Linked DNA regions of Homo sapiens: region 1 is linked to region 2. The links are contacts of gene promoters, found by promoter capture Hi-C in human tissues and cell types (Jung and others, 2019). All regions are on one chromosome and are shown on one strand. Each heading gives the region's core, a stretch centred on a gene start or on the middle of the fragment in contact. The rest is flanking DNA. Distances are from core to core; before and after follow the strand shown. Region 1 overlaps SLC25A20 (solute carrier family 25 member 20). Region 2 holds the start of DALRD3 (DALR anticodon binding domain containing 3).

Region 1 (4,612 bases), core at 684-3,183, 130 kb after region 2:
CCAGCAGGTTAAGTGAATGCCAAAGACATGTACAAGGGTACAGCCTTCCCTGTTCAGTTTGGCAGACAGTTGGGCCATTGCTGCTGACAGGCAGTTCTGATTCTGGTAGGTGACTGCATTTTAACTTCTGTTTTCAGGTCCGACTGCAGACACAGCCACCGAGTTTGCCTGGACAACCTCCCATGTACTCTGGGACCTTTGACTGTTTCCGGAAGACTCTTTTTAGAGAGGTTGGTATATGGTGCTGGGCATTCCTCTTACTCAGAACACATTCACGGGGTTGATTTGTTACCCCCAAGGAGAGTAGGTTAACTGTGTGGTTCTGCTGGACAGCTAGCTCACAGCTGCCGCTCCTTCACCACGCCACCCTGTGCCCCCCTGTTGTCATCTGCTTTGGAGTCTCTGATAGTTCTAGCTACTGTTTTATACAGATGACTAAGGCTAATAAAATGGTTCTCTCTTTTGGAAGATGGAATTTAGACGACGGAGAACTAGTGAGTAATAATTGAGATGTGAAATGGAAGAAAATGTACATCTGAGCTGGGTGTGGTGGCTCACGCCTCTAATCCTAGCGCTTTGGGGGCCAAGGCAGGTGGATCACTTGAGGTCAGGAGTTTAAGACCAGCCTGGGCAACATGTAGAGAGTGTCATCTCTACAAAAAATGCAAAAATTAGAGGGGCATGGTAGCGCATGTACATCTGTAGTCCCAGCCACTCAGGAGACTGAGGTGGGAGGATCACTCCACCAGGAGGTAGAGTTTGCAGTGAGCCAAGATTGCACCACTGCACTCCAACCTGGGTGACAGAGTGAGACCCTGCCTGAAAAACAAAAAAAGGCCAATCATGGTGGCTTACGCCTATAATCCCAGCACTTTGGGAGGCCAAGGTGGGTGGATTGCCGGAGTTCAGGAGTTCAAGACCACCCTGGCCAACATCATGAAACCCCGTCTCTACTAAAAATACAAAAATTGGCTGTGCACGGTGGCATGCGCCTGTAGTCCCAGCTACTTGGGAGGCTGAGGCACGAGAATCGCTTGAACCCAGGACGGGGAGGTTGCAGTGTAGGGTCCAGCCCTACGGGGCTTAGCGGATGTTTTCCCCATGTGTGGAGATGAGAGATCATAAGAAATAAAGACACAAGACAGAGATAAAGAGAAAACAGCTGGGCCGGGGGGACCACTACCAAGACATGGAGACTGGTAGTGGCCTTGCATGGCTGGGCGCGCTGATATTTATTGAATACAAGACAAGGGGGTGGCTGGGCGCGCTGGCTCACGCCTGTGATCCCAGCACTTTGGGAGGCTGAGGCGGGTGGATCACGAGGTCAGGAGATCGAGACCATCCTGGCTAACACGGTGAAACCCCATCTCTACTAAAAATACAAAAAATTAGCCGGACGTCGTGGCGGGCACCTGTAGTCCCAGCTACTCGGGAGGCTGAGGCAGGAGAATGGTGTGAACCCAGGAGGCGGAGCTTGCAGTGAGCTGAGATCACACCACTGCACTCCAGCATGGGCGACAAAGCGAGACTCTATCTCAAAAAAAAAAAAAAAAAAAAAGACAAGGGGGCAGGGTAAGGAGGGTGAGTTATCCAAGTGATTGATAAGGTCAGGCAAATCACGTGATCATGGGATAGGGAGCCCTTCTGTTTTAGGTAGCCGAAGCAGAGAGGGAAGGCAGCATACATCAGCATTTTCCTCTATGCACTTATAAGAAAGATCAGGCCGGGCGCGGTGGCTCATGCCTGTAATCCCAGCACTTTGGGAGGCTGAGGCAGGTGGATCACAGGGTCAGGAGATCAAGACCATCCTAGCTAACACGGTGAAACCCCGTCTCTACTAAAAAAAATACAAAAAATTAGCTGGGCATGGAGGTGGGCGCCTGTAGTCCCAGCTACTCAGGAGGCTGAGGCAGGAGAATGGCGTGAACCCAGGAGGCGGAGCTTGCAGTGAGCCGAGATCCTGCCACTGCACTCCAGCCTGGGTGACAGAGCGAGATCAAAGAGGAACCAGGAGTATGGGAGGAACATGAAAGTGGACAAGGAGCGTGATCACTGAAGCACAGCGTCACAGGGAGGGGTTTAGGCCTCTGGAAAACTGGGCAGGCCTGGATAATATCCAGCCTCCCACAAGAAGCTGGTGGAGTAGAGTGTTCCCTGACTCCTCCAAGGAAAGGAGACTCCCTTTCATGGTCTGCTAAGTAACGGGTGCCTTCCCAGGCACTGGCGTTACTGCTTGACCAAGGAGCCCTCAAGCGGCCCTTATGCGGGCGTGACAGAGGGCTCACCTCTTGCCTTCTTGGTCACTTCTCACAATGTCCCTTCAGCACCGGACCCTATACCTGCCGGTTATTTCTTGTTTATATTAGTAATACAACAAAGAGTAATATTAAAAGCTAATGATTAATAATGTTTATACTAATGATTGATAATGTCCATGATCATCTCTATATCTAATTTGTATTATAACTATTCTATTTTCTTTATTATAGTGAAACAGTTTGTGCCTTCAGTCTGTTGCCTCGGCACCTAGGTAATCCTTTGCCCACACTGCAGTGAGCTGAGACTGCACCATTGCACTCCAGCCTGGGCAACAAGAGTGAAACTCTGTCTCAAAAAAAGAAAAAGAAAAAAGAAAATGTACACCTGCATCTGGATCAGTCAGTTTGATAGGGATCCATGTCAGAAGCGCATATGAATAAAGTCTGAAGGAAAAGTCAGCCAGTCCTAGAAACACTGAGAGAAGCTATCAGTCTCCAGTTCCCCTAGACAGGGACATTAAATTGGTTTGGAGTTATTATTATTATTATATATATATATTTTGAGACATGGTCTCACTCTGTTGCCCAGGCTTGACTACAGTGGCATGAACTTGGCTCACTGCAACCTCTGCCTCCCAGGCTCAAGAGATTCTCCTGCCTAAGCTTCCCGAGTAGCTGAGATTACAGGCATGTGCCATCATGCCTGGCTAATTGCACTCCAGCCTGGGCAAAAAGAATAAAACTCTGTCTCAAAATAAGAATAATATTAATAATAATAATAAATAACTTCATTAACACAGGTCTTAAAGACCTCATTGAGATCTTTTCCTTTGCTTCCTAAAATATAACTTTTTTTTTTTTGAGACGGAGTTTTGCTCTTGTTGTCCAGTCTGGAGTGCAATGGCACAATCTTGGCTCACCGCAATCTCTTGAACCATCTCCTTGGTTCAAGTGATTCTCCTGCCTCAGCTTCCTGAGTAGCTGGGATTATAGGCATGCACCACCATGCCTGGCTAATTTTGTATATTTAGTAGAGACAGGGTTTCACCATGTTAACCAGGATGGTCTCGATCTCCTGACCTCATGATCCACCCGCCTCAGCCTCCCGAAGTGCTGGGATTACAGGCATGAGCCACCACGCCTGGCCCTAAAATATAACTTTCATATAAACACTCTATTATAGTCTCTAAATTTATAGCCTTGATTAAATATACAGAAACTAAGTAGTAGTCATCCAGATAAAAAGGGAGTGATAGTAAGTGATGGACTCAGCCTTGGCGAAGTTGTTCCCAGGATTCCTGTAGGACTTGGGTGCAGAAGGAAGATCTTTTTAAACTATTTATTTATTTATTTATTTATTTATTTATTTATTTATTTATTTTGAGACAAGAGTCTTGTTCAGTTGCCCAGGCTGGAGTGCAGTGGCGCAATCTCGGTCACTGCAAACTCTGCCTCCCGGGTTCAAGTGATTCTCCTGCCTCAGCCTCCCGAGTAGCTGGGATTGCAGGCACCTGCCACCATGCCCGGCTAATTTTTGTGTTTTTAGTAGAAATGGGGTTTTACCATGTTGGCCAAGCTGGTCTCAAACTCCTGACTTTGTGATCTGCCCGCCTCAGCCTCCCAAAGTGCTGGGATTACAGGCATGAGCCACTGCATCTGGCTTAGGAAGATCTTGAGGCAGTGCCTGCCCAACCGTCCTTGAGTGAGGTGGTGCTACCCTTCTTTTTTTTTTTTTTTTTTTTTTCGAGATGGAGTCTTGTTCTGCCACTCAGACTGGAGTGCAGTGGTCCGATCTTGGCTCACTGCAACCTCCACCTCCTGGGTTCAAGTGATTCTCCTGCCTCAGCCTCCCAAGTAGCTGGGATTACAGGCACCTGCCACAATGCCCAGCTCATTTTTATAATTTTAGTACAGATGGGTTTTGCCATGTTGGCCAGCTGGTTTTAATCTCCTGAGCTCAGGTGATCTGCCTGCCTCAGCCTCCCAAAGCGCTGGAATTACAGATATGAGCCACCACGCCTGGCCTGCCCTTTCTTCTTCTTCTTTTTTTTTATGGAGTCTCATTCTGTCACCCAGGTTGGAGTGCAGTGGCACGATCTCAGCCCACTGCAACCTCCGCCTCCCGGGTTCAAGCAATTCTCCCTGCCTCAGCCTCCCGAGTAGCTGGGACTACAAGCGTCTGCCACCATGCCCGACTAATTTTTGTATTTTTAGTAGAGATGGGGTTTCACCATATTGGCCAGGCCGGTCTTGAACTCCTGACTTCGTGATCTGCCCTCCTTGGCCTCCCAAAGTGCTGGAATTACAGGCGTGAGCCATGGCACCTGGCCTTGTTCTTTCTTCTTTAAGCTCCT
Region 2 (3,971 bases), core at 42-2,541:
GGCCCGTAAATGGCTGTTGCCTAAAACAGGAAGCTTTAAGGATCGTTGTTAAAGCACACCAGGTTAAAGGAGTCACATTAAAAGCTGGTCATTCTGAGCCGGGCGCGGTGGCTCACGCCTGTAATCCCAGCACTTTGGGAGGCCGAGGCAGGCGGATCACCTGAGGTCGGGAGTTCGAGGCTTGACAAACATGGAGAAACCCCGTCTCTATTAAAAATACAAAAGTAGCCGGGCGTGGTGGCGCGTGCCTGTAATCCCAGCTACTTGGGAGACTGAGGCAGGATAATCACTTGAACCCGGGAGGGGGAGGTTGCGGTGAGCCAAGATCACACCACTGTACTCCAGCCTGGGCAACAGGAGCGAAACTCCGTCTCAAAAAAAAAAAAAAAAAGTCTGGTAATTCTGGAAGCCATCATGATGGTTGTGATTTCTCAGGTATCAAGAGAAGAAAACCGCCAACTGTATCAGAGTGCTTATTTATTGGGCATAAAGACCACCCGGGCTGGGTGCAGTGGCTGATGCCTGTAATCCCAGCACTTTCGGAGGCCGAGGCGGGCAGGTCACGAGGTCAGGAGTTCGAGACCAGCCTGGCCAACATGGCGAAACCCCGTCTCTACTAAAAATACAAAAATTAGCCGGGCGTGGTGGCGGGCGCCCGTAATCCCAGCTACTCGGGAGGCTGAGGAGGAGAATCCTGTGAATCCGGGAGGTGGAGGCTGCAGTGAGCCGAGATCGTGCCACTGCACTCCAGCCTGGGAGACAAGAGCAAGACTCCGTCTCAAACAAACAAAAAAACACCCATATCTCAAACGAGAAAATGCTTGCAAATAACCTGAAACCGCGGAACACTATTCTTTTTAAAACGAGATATTTTAAGTAGGTCGTGAAAGTGGCCTTAATGTTATACTGCCTTATTCCAGTGACGAATATTCATCATGTGTAAAATGGGAGAAATGAAATGTTATTAAAACAAACATGTGAGACTTCGATGAGAAGAGACGGTACCCGGTCTAAGCGCCCACCGGGTCGCGAGGATCCTTTTCCTGGTTAAGGCCTGGGTCACAGCGAAAGAACCCTAGGCCCAGGGAGGGCCCCGAGATTTCAGATCCGGGGCCCGGCTGTGCAGGTGGACCACGCGGAAGGGGCGCTGGGGGCGGTAGGTCGAAAGCAGCCGACAGGGCTACCACTGGCGCACCTGTCCACTTACGGGGACCACCGCCGCATCCCCGCCCCAGCTAGTCGGTCCTTTCCGGAAGTTCCACCTCCCTAAATTTTTTTCCGGTTCCGCTTACTCCTTCCGGTCACCATGGCGACCAGGCGCCTTGGGGTCGGGGAGACGCTGGGGGCCCTCAACGCGGCCCTGGGGCCAGGCGGTCCGGTGTGGATCAAGGAGACGCGCACCCGCCACCTGCGTTCCCGAGACTTTCTGGCACCGCACCGCGCGCTGCAGGCGCGCTTCGATGACGGCCAGGTGGGCGTGAGCCGGGCGGGGCCGTGCGGCCGGGAGATGGGCCCCGTGCCGTGGCTCTTTTACACGCCCGTTCTCCCGCAGGTTCCGGAGCATTTGCTCCATGCCCTCGCCTGCCTGCAGGGCCCCGGTGTGGCCCCGGTGCTGCGCTGCGCGCCGACCCCCGCGGGTCTGTCTCTCCAACTGCAGCGGTCCGCCGTCTTCGAGCGCGTCCTCAGCGCCGTGGCCGCCTATGCCACGCCCGCCTCGCCTGCCTCGCTGGGCCAGCGCGTCTTACTACACTGCCCAGCACTGCGCAGCTCCCCCTGCGCACTCCGCTTGAGCCAGCTGCGTACGGTGCTCGTGGCCGATCACCTGGCGCGAGCCCTGCGCGCTCACGGGTGAGCGGGGCCGCGGGGCCGGAATGGAGAAAGTGGGACTGCCGGGTACCTAGAAAGCGAGCGGCGCCGCCCGTGGGGACTGCGGCTGGAGGTGGGAAGTCGTGGCGAGCTGGACCAGGTGCTCAGACTGAGGCGGCCGCCCTCCCTTCGCAGGGTGTGCGTGCGCCTAGTGCCAGCTGTGCGGGATCCGCACATGCTGACCTTCCTGCAGCAACTGCGGGTGGACTGGCCCGCTGCCTCGGAGAGAGCTTCCTCCCACACCCTGAGGAGCCACGCCCTTGAAGAACTTACCTCTGCTAATGACGGGAGGACACTGTCCCCTGGCATCCTAGGCAGACTGTGTCTGAAGGAGCTGGTGGAAGAACAGGGCCGCACAGCTGGCTATGACCCCAACCTGGACAACTGTCTGGGTAGGACCTGAAGCCTAGCAGGGCCAGAAAAGGCAGGAGGGGGTTAGGGGCACATCTCTGCTTCTTGTCAGTCTCAGCACCTGTCTGTTCTCTTTTCAGTGACTGAGGATCTCCTCTCTGTGCTGGCTGAGCTGCAAGAGGCTCTATGGCATTGGCCCGAGGACAGCCACCCAGGCCTGGTTAGTGACTCCCAGCCCTGTAGGTTCTCCCAAACCAAGTATACTGTACTTCCACAGTTATGATTGTCCTCCCTTAGGCTGGGGCCTCAGATACTGGTACAGGCGGCTGCCTGGTTGTACATGTTGTTAGCTGTGAGGAGGAGTTCCAGCAACAGAAGTTGGACCTGCTTTGGCAGAAGTTGGTTGACAAGGCTCCACTCAGACAGGTAGGTTAATAATGATGGTGGAGCTCCCCACCACCTAACCCCCAACCTCAGAGGGCCCTTGAAAACCCACCGAGGGGCTTGTTAGCTGACAGAAACCAACACTTGACCTTGGGGGAGTTGCTGGACTTGAGAGGGCATGTACAGCAGGTGCAGAGGCTCTGGGGAAGGGGGGTCTGTAGACACATCCCAAGAACACTGAAGACCAGGTTGAGAAGGATGAACCATGCGTAGCCTGAGTGGCTGGGTAGACGGAGGCACTCAACCTGGCAGTTCCAATTTGAGGGAGTCTGGGCTGAGTAGAGGCACCAGATTTGGGCTCCTCAAGGGACTTCCTGGAGAGTAGCGCCAACTAGGCTGAGCCCCTGACATCTTTCTGACAGAAGCACCTCATCTGTGGCCCTGTGAAAGTAGCTGGTGCACCTGGCACTCTGATGACTGCCCCTGAGTACTACGAGTGAGTGAGGCTGGGAGGAACACCAACCTAAGCCAGGGTAATGAGGGGGGACTCTTTACCCAGGACCCTGCCCACTGGCCTTCCTCTCTTCCAAACACAGGTTCCGGCATACCCAGGTGTGCAAGGCCTCAGCACTGAAGCATGGTGGGGATCTGGCACAAGGTGTGCCTGGGAAACCCTGGCTATGTTCTGGGTTAGGGGCAGGTTTTTTGCATCCCTGCCCTTGCCTGCAGACTGACTGACCAACCCTATACTCCCTCAGACCCAGCCTGGACAGAGATCTTTGGTGTTCTCTCTGTGGCCACCATCAAGTTTGAGATGCTGAGCACAGCCCCACAGAGTCAGGTGAGCCTGGGAGCCTGACAGGGCCAGTGTTGGGGCACAGGGTGTGGTGGCTGCCTTCTCTCTCTGCAGCTGTGCTTCTATTCCCCAGCTCTTCCTGGCTCTGGCTGACAGCAGTATCTCCACGAAGGGCACAAAGAGTGGCACCTTTGTCATGTATAATTGTGCCCGTCTTGCCACACTCTTTGAGAGTTACAAGTGTAGTATGGAACAAGGTCTGTACCCCACTTTTCCTCCTGTGAGCAGTCTGGACTTCTCACTGCTACATGATGAGGTGAGTGTCCCTCCTGGTAGCTGGCACAAGGAGGCCTGGACTTCCCCTCCCAGCACCTTTCTCCCCAACAGGGTGAGTGGTTGTTGCTCTTCAACAGTATCCTCCCCTTTCCGGATCTGCTGAGCCGGACAGCAGTGCTGGACTGCACAGCCCCGGGGCTCCACATTGCTGTACGCACAGAGATGGTGAGGCATAGACAACCAGGACACTCTACACTCTATTCTTTATTCTGGCCTGGGGCACAAGAGCAAAGAGATG

Evidence for each region. Contacts are between HindIII fragments. The study calls those that stand out against the background at their distance.
Region 1: a fragment that was not itself captured here is called in contact with the fragment with the promoter of DALRD3 in region 2 in 1 of the 25 tissues and cell types used here (adrenal gland).

Annotation. Positions count from the first base shown.
Region 1 is chr3:48,887,598-48,892,209 of GRCh38, reverse strand. It overlaps SLC25A20 (solute carrier family 25 member 20), which reads left to right. Exons shown (of 9, transcript NM_000387.6): 2 at 138-230. Among named protein-coding and RNA genes, the nearest start is that of SLC25A20, 9.0 kb to the left of the region's middle. The HindIII fragment of the contact is 4,581 bases long and covers 1-4,223 here.
Region 2 is chr3:49,015,900-49,019,870 of GRCh38, reverse strand. It overlaps DALRD3 (DALR anticodon binding domain containing 3), which reads left to right and starts at 1,291. Exons shown (of 12, transcript NM_001009996.3): 1 at 1,291-1,471; 2 at 1,553-1,848; 3 at 2,002-2,258; 4 at 2,358-2,437; 5 at 2,515-2,643; 6 at 3,024-3,097; 7 at 3,198-3,259; 8 at 3,360-3,442; 9 at 3,531-3,713; 10 at 3,785-3,898. The coding sequence starts at 1,307. WDR6 (WD repeat domain 6) reads right to left here. Exons shown (of 6, transcript NM_018031.6): 6 at 3,920-3,971. RefSeq lists a silencer at 2,061-2,295 and enhancers at 1,744-2,515, 2,801-2,870. The HindIII fragment of the contact is 18,150 bases long and covers 1-3,787 here.